4 separate regions of the Homo sapiens genome follow, and all the other regions are linked to region 4. Evidence: promoter capture Hi-C in 16 types of primary human blood cells and fetal thymus (Javierre and others, 2016). All regions are on one chromosome and are shown on one strand. The core of a region is centred on a gene start or on the middle of the fragment in contact, and the rest is flanking DNA. Distances in the headings are between cores, read along the strand shown.

Region 1 (3,146 bases), core at 184-2,683, 200 kb after region 4:
AACTCCTGGGCTCAAGGAATCGATCCTCCTGCCTCGGTCTCCCAAAGTGCTCGGATCACAAGGGTGTGCCACAGCGCCTGGCCCACTCTTGAAATTTTAACATGCATCCTTAAAGTGACCAAATCTAAATATAATCATTCTGTCATATTCCAGAATAACAAAAGATTTCAAAGCATTCTAATCCTGATCACCTGCCACCTGTTTTACAGGTTTTAATTGGTCTTTTTTTTTTTTTTAAGTTTTATTATGAAAAAACGGCGACTATGCAAACCAAATAGACCTCTAGGGAGTGGGCTGCAGGCAGCGGGTCTCTCACCTCCAAGAGGGTGTGGCCTAATGGAGTCTGGGACCTCTCTCTGAGGGGCCTGGAAATCTACTTCCGGAAGAGCAGAAAGTAACAGGAAGCTGGAGCCATTGCTGTCCCTGGCTCCTGGCAAGACGCAGTGTGGAACTAGGGTCTTGTGAGAAATCCCTACACCCCTCCTCCTGCCAGCCAGCGCCCTGCCAGGGCCCCGTGCTGCTGGTGCCAGCTGCCAAGGGGGTCACAGAGCTGGAGGGTCAGCTTTGTGGCAGAGACAGCGGCGAAGCTTCACCCAAACAAGTAGAGGAAAAATGGGCTCACCCTGAGTGTGTAACAAAGAGGAAATGCCCCACACGTTTCCCGGAGAAGGTCCTGGAACAAACAGCCGTGAAATCATCTCATGTCCCAACCTATTACAATACTATGACTTAGAACAAGTTTTTCAGGCTGTATTATAAAAATAAGACACTCTGAGTCGACTGGGCGCGGTGGCTCACGCCTGAAATCCCAACACTTTGGGACGCCGAGGCGGACAGATCACCTGAGGTCAGGAGTTTGAGACCAGCCAGGCCAACATAGTGAAACCCCGTCTCTACTAAAAATACAAAAAAATTAGCTGGGCGTGGTGGCGGGTGCCTGTAATCCCAGCTACTCGGGAGCCTGAGGCGGGAGAATCATTTGAATCTAGGAGGAGGAGGTTGCAGTGAACCGAGATCTTGCCATTGCACTCCAGCCTGGGTGACGAGCAAAACTGCGTCTCATAAATAAATAAATAAATAAATAACCCAATTCATGTGGTTACGACAAACTCTAAGATAACACGGGCTTTGCCCTGGAATGTCGGCTTGGTGAGAATTGACTTGGAAGAGGGCATTCAGGCTGTTGTAACAAAAATACCACAGACTGTGTAGCTTAAGGAACAAATATGTATCTCTCATAGTTCTGGAGGGTGTGGAGTCCAACATCAAGGCAGCAGCATATTCTGTGTCTGGTGTGGGCCAGTTTCCTTGTTCATTGCTGGCACCTTCTTGCTGTGTTTCCACTTGGTGAAAGGGTAAGGGAGCTCTCTGGGAGGGTATTTTTTGAGACGGAGTTTCGCTTTTGTCGCCCAGGCTGGAGTGCAATAGCGTGATCTCAGCTCACTGCAACCTCCGCCTCCCAGGTTCAAGTGATTCTCCTGCCTCAGCCACTTAATTAGCTGGGATTACAGGCATGCGCCACCATACTGGGCTACTTTCGGCTAATTTTTGTATTTTTAGTAGGGACGGGGTTTCACCATGACTTCAGGTGATCTGCCCACCTCGGCCTCCCAAAGTGCTGGGATTACAGGCGTGAACCACCACACCGGCCATATTTATTTATTTTTGAGACAAGGTCTCTCTCTATCACCCAGGTTGGAGTGCAGTGGTGTGATCACAGCTCACTGTAGCCTTGACCTCCCCAGCTCAAGTGATCCTCCCACCTCAGCCTCTTAACTAGCTGGGACTACAGGTGCGCTTCACCACACTTGGCTAATTTTTTTTTTTTTTTTTTTGGTAGAGATGGGCTTTTGCTATGTTGCCCAGTCTGGTTTAGAACTCCTGGGCTCAGGTGATCCTTCTACCTTGGCCTCTCAAAGTGCTGAGATTACAGGTGTAAGCCACCTTGCCCAGCCTTCTCGAAAATATTTAAAGCATTTGTAAGAATCTGGTATATCAGACTTGTGAAAAGTATGACAGAGTGTATTACTGTTTTTCTCCTATTCATGGCATTTAAGGGAAACCACAATATCAGATTTGTGAAAAGTTCACTGATTAAATGTGCAATCACTGTTCAAATATTTAGGCGAAATCTACAATTGTGAAATTTGTGGCTTGTTATTTTTAGCTGTAGAAGTAGTCTGTGAATGTTTAAAGGAAAGATAATTGTTTAAAAATTCATTGATCATTAACAAAAAAACAAATTGTTGTGAATTTTCCTGTCCATGTACAAAAGCTTCTCAGTCATTCAAGGAGCTCACCACCATGTTTTCAACAAATGGGGCTGGAAAAAGTGGCCAGGAGCTGAAGGGAGGAGAATTGGGGAAGTGGGATTTAATTGCGGCAGAGAGTTTCAATTTTATCAGATGAAAAAATTCTGAAGATTGGTTGTGCAACAATGTGAATATACTTAACGCGACTTAACTGTACACTTAGAAATGATTCAGGTGCCGTGGGGTTATGATACAGATTGGTTTTCGGCCAGGTGCAATGGCTTACGCTTGTAATCCAACACTTTGGGTGGCCGAGGCGGGCAGATCACTTGAGGTCAGGAGTTCTGAGAGCCGCCTGGCCAACATGGTGAAACCCTGTCTCTACTAAAAATACAAAAATTAGCCGGGCATGGTAGCGCAAACCTGAAGTCCCAGCTACTTGGGAGGCTGAAGCACGAGAATCTCTTGAACCCGGGAGGCGGAGGTTCCAGTGAGCCCACTGCACTCCAGCCCGGGCAACAGAGCGAGATTCTTTCTCTCAAAAAAAAACAAAAAAAAAAAACAAAAAAAACAAAAACAAAAACAAAAAACCTCCAAAAAATTAGCCAGGTGGAGGCACCTGTAATCTGAGCCACTTAGGAGGCTGAGGCAGGAGAATTGCTTGAACCTGGGAGGCAGAGGTTGCAGAGAGCTGAGATTGTGCCACTGCACTCCAGCCTGGGCGACAGTGACCCTGTCCCCCTCCACCCCTCCGAAAAAAAAAGAAAAGAAAACAAGAACAGTAGTCAAATCTCTAGGGGCTCCAGTGAGTAGGTGAGGATAGGGTGTGGTGGAGAAGCTGAAAGATGCTAAATAGCCTGGCTCCCCAGGGATCTGGGAAGTGCTCACTCAGTA
Region 2 (3,011 bases), core at 481-2,980, 130 kb after region 4:
TTATTCATCCTTTTCTTTTTGTACCAATTAACCATCCCCCACCTCTCCCCCATGTACACACCCCCACCCCCAATCTTCTTTTTTTTTCTAGTCCAAGGAACACCACCCCTTACTTGCCGACTTCCGAAGGTCACCGGGAGCGGGTTCTCAGCCTCTCCCAAGCCCTGGCTACTGAGGCGTCGCAGTGGCACAGAATGATGACAGGTGACTGGCTGGGGATGTTGGACTTCTGGGTTTTAGGGAGGAGAGAGCTGGAGACCTGGAATCCCAGGTCCTGGAGAGGAGGGGTCTGGGGGCCGGTGAGAATTTTTTATCTTGGTGAGTAAAGAGTTGGGCAGGGTTTGGGAGTTTTAGGTCTCAGGCAAGAGGTGACTGGGGTCCGGGACACTTGGGAGGAGGGGAGGAAGAGGTCAGGGGGCGGGGAGAGGGCCGACAACTGAGTCTCAAAGAGGACTGGACTGGCGTATCCAGACTCCTGGATCTGAGGGAGGAGGGGCTGGGGGCCTGGACTCCTGGGTCTGAGGGAGGAGGGGCTGGGGGCCTGGACTCCTGGGTCTGATGGAGGAGGGGCTGGGAATCCGGAGTCCTGGGTCTGAGGGAGGAGGGGCTGGGAATCCGGGGTCCTAGCGCTGAGGTTTGCCATTCTCATGTCCCACTCATCCTCTCCAGGTGGAAATTTGGACTCCCAGGGAGACCCTCTTCCCGGTGTGCCGCTGCCTCCTTCGGACCCCACGCGCCAGGAGACCCCTCCCCCCAGATCTCCCCCGGTGGCTAATTCGGGTTCCACGGGGTTCTCTCGCCGAGGGAGTGGGCGTGGAGGAGGTCCCACCCCCTGGGGGCCCGCGTGGGATGCCGGGATCGCCCCTCCGGTCCTGCCACAAGACGAGGGGGCATGGCCTCTGCGAGTCACTCTGCTACAATCCAGCTTCTAATCCGCCCAAAAGCGGCAGCCAATCGGAGCGCGAGGACGTGGTCTGGAGGTACCGCCGGAGATCTGGGACCACTCAGGGCATCAGGGGGCGTGGTCTGGTCCCCATTGCGGGCCCGGGAGGGGAATGGTTTCTATGGCCAAAGTTTGGTTTTCTCAACACTGTCTAAATTTGGATTAAAACTTTGAACTTTTAGTCAATAGCTTTCTTTCTGTCTGTCTGGGGTTGTGGCACTGGTGTCTCTGAGGGGCAGAGCTGGAGTCGTGGACTCCTGGGTCCTGAGAGAGGAAGGGACAGGGGGCTTGGACTTATAGGTCTCTGGGAAGAAGGGATAGAGAACCTGATCCCTCGGTCTGAGAGTGGAGGGGGCTGGGCCAGGATTCCCGGGTCTGAGGGAGGAAGGGGTGGGACCCTGACTCCTGGGTCTGAGGGAGGAGGGACTGGGAGGCTGGACTCCCGGGTCTGAGGGAGGAGGGGCTGGGACCCTGACTCCTGGGTCTGAGGGAGGAGGGGCTGGGAGGCTGGACTCCCGGGTCTGAGGGAGGAGGGGCTGGGAGGCTGGACTCCCGAGTCTGAGGGAGGAGGGGCTGGGGGCCTGGACTCCCGAGTCTGAGGGAGGAGGGACTGAGGCTTCTGGATTCCTGGGTCTGTGGGAGGAGGGACTGGGGCTCCTGGATTCCTGGGTCTGTGGGAAGAGAGGAGTGTCTGAGGGAGGAGGGGCTGGGGACAAACTTCCAGGTCTCTAGCCTTCCTGGCAACGCCCCCCGAGGCCGGACTTCCAGGATCCAGCCTCTATTGAGGATTTGATGCGACGGCCTCACGGGGCTTTGGAGGTGAAAGAGGCCCAGAGTAGAGAGAGAGAGAGACCGACGTACACGGGATGGCTACGGGAACGCGCTATGCCGGGAAGGTGGTGGTCGTGACCGGGGGCGGGCGCGGCATCGGAGCTGGGATCGTGCGCGCCTTCGGTGAGCCGGGTCTGACTGCTGGGAGCTGTGGAGTGTGAGAAAGGAAGGATGGGGGCGGGGTGATGGGGGCGGAAAATAGGGACTCCAGTACTGCAGCCAGGATTCTGATATTATAAAAGCCAATTTGCAGGCTAAAGTAAGCGTGTGGCGCTGTAGGCTAGGGCTGAGTCTGGCAGGGTCTCCGAAGGCAGTGGCCCCTTTCTCTGGGTCTGTTGGTGTAGCTACAAAACCAGTGGTTTGAGGAATGGCTCTGTCAGTCGTGGAGTTTGCTCCGGAAGCCACGAACGGGGGTTCAGGAGCCTCAGCAGAAACAAGGCAAGGAGAGTATGTGTCAAGGCGTCTGCCCTCTGTCCTATGGGTGATCATGAGACTGGGGTCACGAGGGGAGAGGGAGATCAGCCCCAATCCAGGTGGCCACAAGAGGGCGGCAGAGGCTTTAACCAAGGCTCGGAGAGTAACCTGTTCCCTTCCTATTCTCAGTGAACAGCGGGGCCCGAGTGGTTATCTGCGACAAGGATGGTGAGTGACGGTCCCTCAGCCCTCACCTTGGCCCTTCCTCCCTCAGACCCAGAGGTCCAGACCCCTAGCACCTCCTCCCTCAGACCCCGGAGTCCAGGCCCCCAGGCCCTACTTCCTCAGACCCAGGAGTCCAGACCTCAGCCCCTCCTCCCTCAGACCTAGGAGTCCAGGCCCCCAGCCCCTCTGCCCTCAGACCCAGGAGTCCAGGTCCCCAGCCCCTCCTCCCTCAGACCCAGAAGTCCAGGCTCCGGCACCTCCTCCCTCAGACCCAGGAATCCAAGTCCCCAACCCCTCCTCCTTCAGACCCAGGGGTCCAGGCTCCCAGCCCCTCTTCCCTCAGACCCAGGAGTCCAGGCTCTGGCACCTCCTCCCTCAGACCCAGGAGTCCAGGCCCCCAGGCCCTACTTTCTCAGACCCAGGAGTCCAGACCTCAGCCCCTCCTCCCTCAGACCCAGGAGTCCAGGCTCCCAGCCCCTCCTCCCTCAGACCCAGGAGTCCAGGCCCCCATCCCCTCCTCCCTCAGACCCAGGAGTCCAGGCCCCCAGCCCCTCCTCCCTCAGACCCAGGAGTCCAGGCTCCCAGCACCTCCTCCCTC
Region 3 (3,064 bases), core at 298-2,797, 230 kb after region 4:
AGGAAGGTGATCGATTTCATCAAATCCTCACTGTTTGGCCTTGGCAGTGGAGCGGCCGAGCAAACCCAGGTCCCAAAAGAAAAGGCCACAGATTCGAGGCAACAATAAAGATTTATCTTGTTGTCTAAGCATCTGACTCACTCCCCGGGACGGGACTGATTCTAGCCTTTGGTTCCCCGAGAGGAGAGGTCTGGGGATGGGCTCCGGCCTGAGGGAGGAAGGGCAGAAAACCGGGACCCTTGGGTCCTGGAGGGGACCAACTGACTGCGATGTAATTCCAGAATCAAGGAATGGGGCAGGGCCAACCCTACCCAGATCTCCTCCCCCAGGCCTGGTCTCCTCACAGGACGCCCCCTCCCCGCTCTTCCTGCCGGGTTTCCTCTTGCCTTTTCCTGTCCCCCACCCAGTGCTGGGAGCCGTGGCAGAGGCAAGAGCAGTGGAACTGACCCAGGCCAGTGGAGCCAGGGCCTCCGGGTGTGCCGGACCCGAAGCAGGGTAAGAGCCAGGGACCCAGCAGCCCAAACCCCTCCTCCCTGGGCCCCAAGACTCAGTCCCCCAGCCATCTTCCATCCCAGGACCCAGGAATCCAGGGTACCATCCCTCTCCTCCCCCTGGACTCGCAAGTCTGAGCCCCAGCCCCCTCCTCCCTCTGACTCGGAGTCCAGGTTCCCTCCACCCCATCCCCACAAGAATGCCTTAGGAGTTGGGGCCTTACCCGCCTTCCCTTAGGGCCATGCTGTCTGGTGAACGGAAGGAGGGCGGAAGCCCCCGCTTCGGGAAGCTTCATCTCCCCGTGGGCCTGTGGATCAATTCCCCCAGGAAGCAGCTGGCGAAGCTGGGGCGGCGCTGGCCCAGCGCAGCCTCTGTCAAGTGAGTGCCATCTCTGCAGGACTCCTGCCCCTGCACACCTGCTTCCCATCTGTCCCTGTTCACTGCCCAGTCCCTGCAAAGTGTTGGCTCCGGTCCTCATCCTGAATTGGGCAAACGAGCTGGTGGGCAGGGGGAGACGGTGGGGCACAGTGATACCAGGGCGCGGTGGGAGTAAGAGCTAGGCTAGGAGGTGGAGTGAGGCCGGATGGGCACGGGGACGGGGACAGAAGGAGCAGGGGGATTGATTCACCTTCCTTCCTCCCCTCCCTGCTCACCTCTTGGAATTTCCTACTGTGGGACTTGCCTTTATTTATTTATTTTTTCTCTCTCTCTTTGCCTCGCGTCTGTCCCCACCCTCACCCCCGCCCCGTCCATCCACCCTGGGTCCCTGTCCTCCCTCTGGGTCTCTGCCCACTTCCCTCCTAATATGCCCCCACCCCCGTCTTGGCGTGTCGTCCTGGGTCTCTCTCCCGCGACTCTGTTCCCCGGCGGACTCCCAGGTCTTCTTCGTCGGACACGGGGAGCCGCAGCAGCGAGCCGCTACCTCCGCCCCCGCCGCACGTGGAGCTGCGGCGAGTGGGCGCTGTCAAGGCGGCCGGGGGAGCCTCCGGTAGCCGCGCCAAGCGCATCTCCCAGCTCTTCCGGGGCTCGGGGACCGGGACCACGGGGTCCAGCGGCGCAGGAGGCCCTGGGACCCCGGGGGGCGCGCAGCGCTGGGCCAGCGAGAAGAAGCTGCCGGAGCTGGCGGCGGGCGTGGCCCCCGAGCCCCCGCTGGCTACCCGCGCCACGGCGCCTCCGGGGGTCCTCAAGATCTTCGGCGCCGGACTGGCATCGGGCGCCAACTACAAGAGCGTGCTGGCCACGGCGCGCTCCACGGCGCGCGAGCTCGTGGCCGAGGCGCTAGAGCGCTACGGCCTAGCAGGCAGCCCCGGCGGTGGCCCCGGCGAGAGCAGCTGCGTGGACGCCTTCGCTTTGTGCGACGCTCTGGGCCGGCCCGCGGCGGCGGGCGTGGGAAGCGGCGAGTGGCGGGCGGAGCACCTGCGCGTGCTGGGCGACTCCGAGCGCCCGCTGCTGGTGCAGGAGCTGTGGCGGGCGCGGCCCGGCTGGGCGCGGCGCTTCGAGTTGCGCGGCCGCGAGGAGGCGCGGCGCCTGGAGCAGGAGGCCTTCGGGGCCGCGGACAGCGAAGGTGAGCGGCGGGCGGGGCTCTGGGGCGGGGACTCGGTGCCAGAGAGGCGGGGTCCGTGGGGCGGGGCCTGGGCGGGGCTTGTGGGACTCGCGGGCTGGCTGGGGGCGGGGCCCGCGGGAGGGGACTGGGAGGGGACTGGACGGTGCGTGTTGGACTCTAGGCAGAGCTAGAGCAGGGCCGGGGGCGGCCAGATGGGCGGGCCTGAGAGTTGGGTGGGGCTTGTTGATTGAGCAGGAGTTTTACAGGGGCCAAGCTTGGGGCTTAGGCGGGACGGGGGCTGGTTGCTGGTGGTGGCTTGGAGTGGCCTGAAGTGGCTCCGAATTGGGGTTAGGGCCTTCTGCAGGCATTTCAGACTGCCTTGGAGGAGGTGGGGTGTGTAGCGGGGTCTGCGGAGTAGTAGATCCTGAGGAGCGTTTGTGGAGTCCAGTGGAATGGGCAGGAGTCCGCAGGGGCCTAAGGGATTCGCCCTGTGTGGTAGGTTAGAGGACACTAGCAATTTGCTGATCTTTGAAAGTTCCTTTCTCTAACCAATCCCCACTTTCTGGTAAGGTTTCTGCGAGGTCTGTTAGGTGTACATCCTGCAGCTTAATGGCTTAAACTGTACTCTCCTTTGATGTGGTCTCTTGGGGCCAATTAGGAGAAAGAGAAATCAATAGTGCAACTGTTTTGATACTGAATATTGACAAGGGTCTTTTTGAATTAAAGAACTAGTCCTGGCCGGGCGTGGTGGCTCACGCCTGTAATCCCAGCACTTTGAGAGGCTGAGGCGGGCGGATCACCTGAGGTTGGGAGTTCGAGACCAGTCTGGCCAACATGGTGAAATCCTGTCTCTTCTAAAAATACAAAAATTAGCCGAGCGTGGTGACGCATGCCTGTAATCCCAGCTACTCGGGAGGCCGAGACATGAGAATAATTTGAACCCAGGAGGCAGAGGCTGCAGTGAGCCAAGATCGCGCCACTGAACTCCAGCCTGGGGGACAGAGCGAGACTTCGTCTCGAAAAAACAAA
Region 4 (3,428 bases), core at 665-3,164:
CTGGTCTCGAACTCCTGACATCAGGTGAGCGACCCACCTGGCCCCATAATCACTCGTTAAATAGGGCTGTTTCTGGCTGAGACCTAACATCTGTTTCTAGATACCAACCTAGGTCTTAATTCAACTCCCTGGAGTCTATCTCTACCATCTGGGAGGGACAGTTAACAGCCAGGCAAGCAGAGAACCCTCAGGTTCAACACTACCCAGATAGCCTCTTGTCTTAGGACAGTTAAGAAAATGGGAGATGGGGCCAACTCCTCTTTCACTGGCATCCCAACCCAGCCAGAAGCTTTATGAGAACAGATCCCACCTCATCTTCCACACCACACACAAAACCACCAGCTGCATCAAAAAGCTTTATTTCCATTTGGTCCAAGGCTTGTTAGGATAGTTAAGAAAGCTGCCTATTGGCTGGAGGGAGAGGCTTAGGCAGAAGCCCTATTACTTTGCAAGGGGCCCTTCAGAAGTCGCTGGGCTCAGAAGGCTCTTAGTCGTGCTTGAGAGTGAGCCTTTCGAAGAGATACTCGCCCAGCCCAGCCTCCGGGCCACCCAGCCTGTGGAGGTTGGTCAGGTGGTCACCCATCTTCTTGATAAGCTTCACTTCCTCATCTAGGAAGTGAGTCTCCAGGAAGTCACAGAGCTGAGAGAGAAGAGGGAGAAATTAGAAACCCAATCCCTGGAAAAGAGGGGGAGAGAGCAGCCAGTTGCAGATTAAAATGTGACAGGTGTGAAATGAGGCTCTGAAGGAAATTTGCCCAAAGGGAGCAGAGGCTTGAGGGGTATGGTTGGGTAGCCATGGATGCAGCGGGTACGTACATGGGGGTCCGTGCGGGCAGAACCCAGGGCATGAAGATCCAAAAGGGCCTGGTTCAGCTTTTTCTCCAGGGCCATGGCAGCTTTCATGGCGTCTGGGGTTTTACCCCACTCATCTTCAGCTGGCTTCTATATAGAAGGGAGAAATGGCTCAGAATACACACACTCGGCACATAGAACTAAACCTACATTTCCCAAGAGTCGTTGGGGGTCAGAGGCCCAGGCCACAAAGACATGTGACAGCTTGTATTTATCACTCTCCGCACCCTGTCCTAGCTCTTACAGCTATACGTCCCTAAGACCACGCAGCGGTGTGGACTGCCGCGTGTTGTGGGCACTGCACGAGGTGCGCCTCTATTTCCAGCGGTTAAGAGGGCTCACAAGACCGAACTCAATCTCCCAGAAGCCCACGCGACACCTACGCCCTCAAATCAAGGCTCCTCGCGCGCACGGCCTGCTGGGAGATGTAGTCCATTACCCACACACTAGTTACCTTGATGTCCTGGAAGAGAGCGCGGCCGCCACGCTGGTTTTGCATCTTCAGGAGACGCTCGTAGCCCTCGCGCTTCTCCTCGGCCAATTCGCGGAAGAAGTGGCTCACGCCTTCCAGAGCCACATCATCGCGGTCGAAATAGAAGCCCTACGGGAAGAGATGGAGGCAACAATGGTTAGCGGGAGGCGAGGCCAAGGGGACTCCGCCCTCTGTTTACCCGACCGCACAAAGAAGGCTGGCGCGTGCAGTGAGGGCCGGAGGTGCGCAGCTGGAGGAAATTAGGGCCAGGGGCGTCCTGGGGACTCACCAGAGAGAGGTAGGTGTAGGAGGCCTGCAGGTACAAATTGACCAGGCTGTTGACGGCTGCCTCCACGTCGGTGGAATAATTCTGACGAATCTGGGAGCTCATGGTTGGTTGGCAAGAAGGAGCTAACCACAAAAACGGTGCTGGCAGGTCCCAGAAGCAGGAGATGGCCGAGAAGATGGTCCCGGAGGTTGCAAGCGGAGAGGAAATCGGAGGGCGGTCGGAGGCTGGAAGAGAGTCCCCGGATCTGTTCCGTCCAAACACTGTTGAAGCAAGAGACAGACCCGCGGGACCGCCGAACTGCGAGGGGACGTGGCTAGGGCGGCTTCTTTTATGGTGCGCCGGCCCTCGGAGGCAGGGCGCTCGGGGAGGGCTAGCGGCCAATCTGCGGTGGCAGGAGGCGGGGCCGAAGGCCGTGCCTGACCAATCCGGAGCACATAGGAGTCTCAGCCCCCCGCCCCAAAGCAAGGGGAAGTCACGCGCCTGTAGCGCCAGCGTGTTGTGAAATGGGGGCTTGGGGGGGTTGGGGCCCTGGGGCTGATTCTGGAAATGCAGGGGTTCGTGGGCGGGAGGGTGGGGGCTGGGGTCCCTCTGGGAGGCTAGAGTTTTATGGGAGCACTAACAGCCCTGTGAACTGATGACCCTGGGGTCCTGGGGTGCCTCGGGAAAGTAAGATTCTGGGGTTTCCGAGGGCATGGATTTTTCTGGAACCTTGAGTGGGGGGAGGGGCACCTCAAAGGTGCAGGGAGGACCTGTAGTTGCCTGAGGTTTGCGCTGCGAGATAAGGAGTCTCCGGATCCTTGGGAAGCTTGGAAGGCTGTGAGGTGTTATTTCTGGACCCCTGGAGATCTCTGGAAGATGGAGTGTTGCGGGGACTGGAGTCCTGGGATTTACAGGGGTGGGGGTTCACGATGCAAACTCTCTATATTTTGGAGCCCTCCCCGGGGAAATCTTTAGGTTCTTGAGGTGCTCTGCAAGTTGGAAAGGGCAGTTATTCTGGAGCCGTGGGTTTCACCCAGTGCGGGAAGCCCAGGAGGAGCATTGTATGAGGTAGGGTGACTTCTGGAACCCTGGACAGCCCTCTGGAACCCTCCAAAGATGGGCTGGGACTTTGGGGATACCTTGGAGCTCTTTCAGGGGCCCAGGCTTTTTCTGGGAGTGGAAATGGGGAGGAATGAAAAGTCTGTTTTGAGCTTTGCGGTGTCTCTGGGATTGCATTTCCTGGAGGCTGTTTTGGAGACAACTCACAGACTTCGAGAATTCTCCGTGGCCCTGAACAGTGTCTCTGAAGTTGCCCTCGTGTCTTGCCTGACGTGTGCTCCTTCAGGCCCACAAAGAGAAGCCCTGCGTTGTGGACAAACAGTCTGGGGACCTATGGACGAGACGTCTGTCTTCGACTAATGCATATTTTTTAAGTGGGCCTGGTCCACGTTGATTTCTGGGAGACGGAGTCGGCGCAAACCTTGACTCTACTTAAGTGCCCTGATGGAGGCAGCCCGTGCGCTGGGCAGGGAGCTGAAGCCACTGGGGTGTGGGGTGAGGTCAGGCCCTGCCCTACAGAGGAGCTGCTCCGAACAGCCCAGGCGGGGCAGCCCCTGACCGAGGGGATCTGCAGATGCCCCGCCAGGCCGGTATCTGGGGTCCTTGTTGCAGGCAGCGACTGCTGAGTCATGCTGAGCTCAGCGCGGGAAGGGGCCCCCGCGGGGACGGATGGGGGTGGGGCCACTCGCTGACCTCATCCCCTTGGCACTCCCCGACTTTTTTGGTGGGACCCTCAGAACTAGACCTGGCTCAGACCCAAATCGGGCCCCCTACCCC

Evidence for each region. Contacts are between HindIII fragments. The CHiCAGO score rates a contact against its expected background, and 5 or more counts as called.
Region 1: a fragment that was not itself captured here is called in contact with the fragment with the promoter of FTL in region 4 in 2 of 17 cell types (endothelial precursors and erythroblasts); the score reaches 7.5 in endothelial precursors.
Region 2: the fragment with the promoter of HSD17B14 here is called in contact with the fragment with the promoter of FTL in region 4 in 15 of 17 cell types (endothelial precursors, erythroblasts, activated CD4 T cells and 12 more); the score reaches 13.6 in endothelial precursors.
Region 3: a contact is called between a fragment that was not itself captured here and the fragment with the promoter of FTL in region 4, in 3 of 17 cell types (endothelial precursors, erythroblasts and naive CD4 T cells). The highest score is 8.7, in endothelial precursors.

What each region holds. Positions count from the first base shown.
Region 1 is chr19:48,768,484-48,771,629 of GRCh38, reverse strand. No RefSeq gene overlaps it. Among named protein-coding and RNA genes, the nearest start is that of FGF21, 15 kb to the right of the region's middle. The HindIII fragment of the contact is 1,688 bases long and covers 590-2,277 here.
Region 2 is chr19:48,835,210-48,838,220 of GRCh38, reverse strand. It overlaps HSD17B14 (hydroxysteroid 17-beta dehydrogenase 14), which reads left to right and starts at 1,730. Exons shown (of 9, transcript NM_016246.3): 1 at 1,730-1,897; 2 at 2,378-2,416. The coding sequence starts at 1,810. It overlaps PLEKHA4 (pleckstrin homology domain containing A4), which reads left to right. Exons shown (of 20, transcript NM_020904.3): 19 at 92-204; 20 at 670-1,124. The coding sequence ends at 932. RefSeq lists a silencer at 753-822. The HindIII fragment of the contact is 28,283 bases long and covers 1-3,011 here.
Region 3 is chr19:48,737,952-48,741,015 of GRCh38, reverse strand. It overlaps RASIP1 (Ras interacting protein 1), which reads left to right and starts at 406. Exons shown (of 12, transcript NM_017805.3): 1 at 406-495; 2 at 730-870; 3 at 1,371-2,056. The coding sequence starts at 734. IZUMO1 (izumo sperm-oocyte fusion 1) reads left to right here. Exons shown (of 10, transcript NM_182575.3): 10 at 1-164. The coding sequence ends at 108. RefSeq lists a cis regulatory region at 1-553, an enhancer at 1,614-2,153 and a silencer at 1,671-2,190. The HindIII fragment of the contact is 1,528 bases long and covers 784-2,311 here.
Region 4 is chr19:48,963,795-48,967,222 of GRCh38, reverse strand. It overlaps FTL (ferritin light chain), which reads right to left and starts at 1,914. Exons shown (of 4, transcript NM_000146.4): 1 at 1,614-1,914; 2 at 1,307-1,453; 3 at 817-942; 4 at 344-640. The coding sequence starts at 1,715. The coding sequence ends at 488. RefSeq lists enhancers at 1,625-1,674, 3,224-3,333, a silencer at 1,925-2,084 and a cis regulatory region at 3,015-3,428. The HindIII fragment of the contact is 1,823 bases long and covers 598-2,420 here.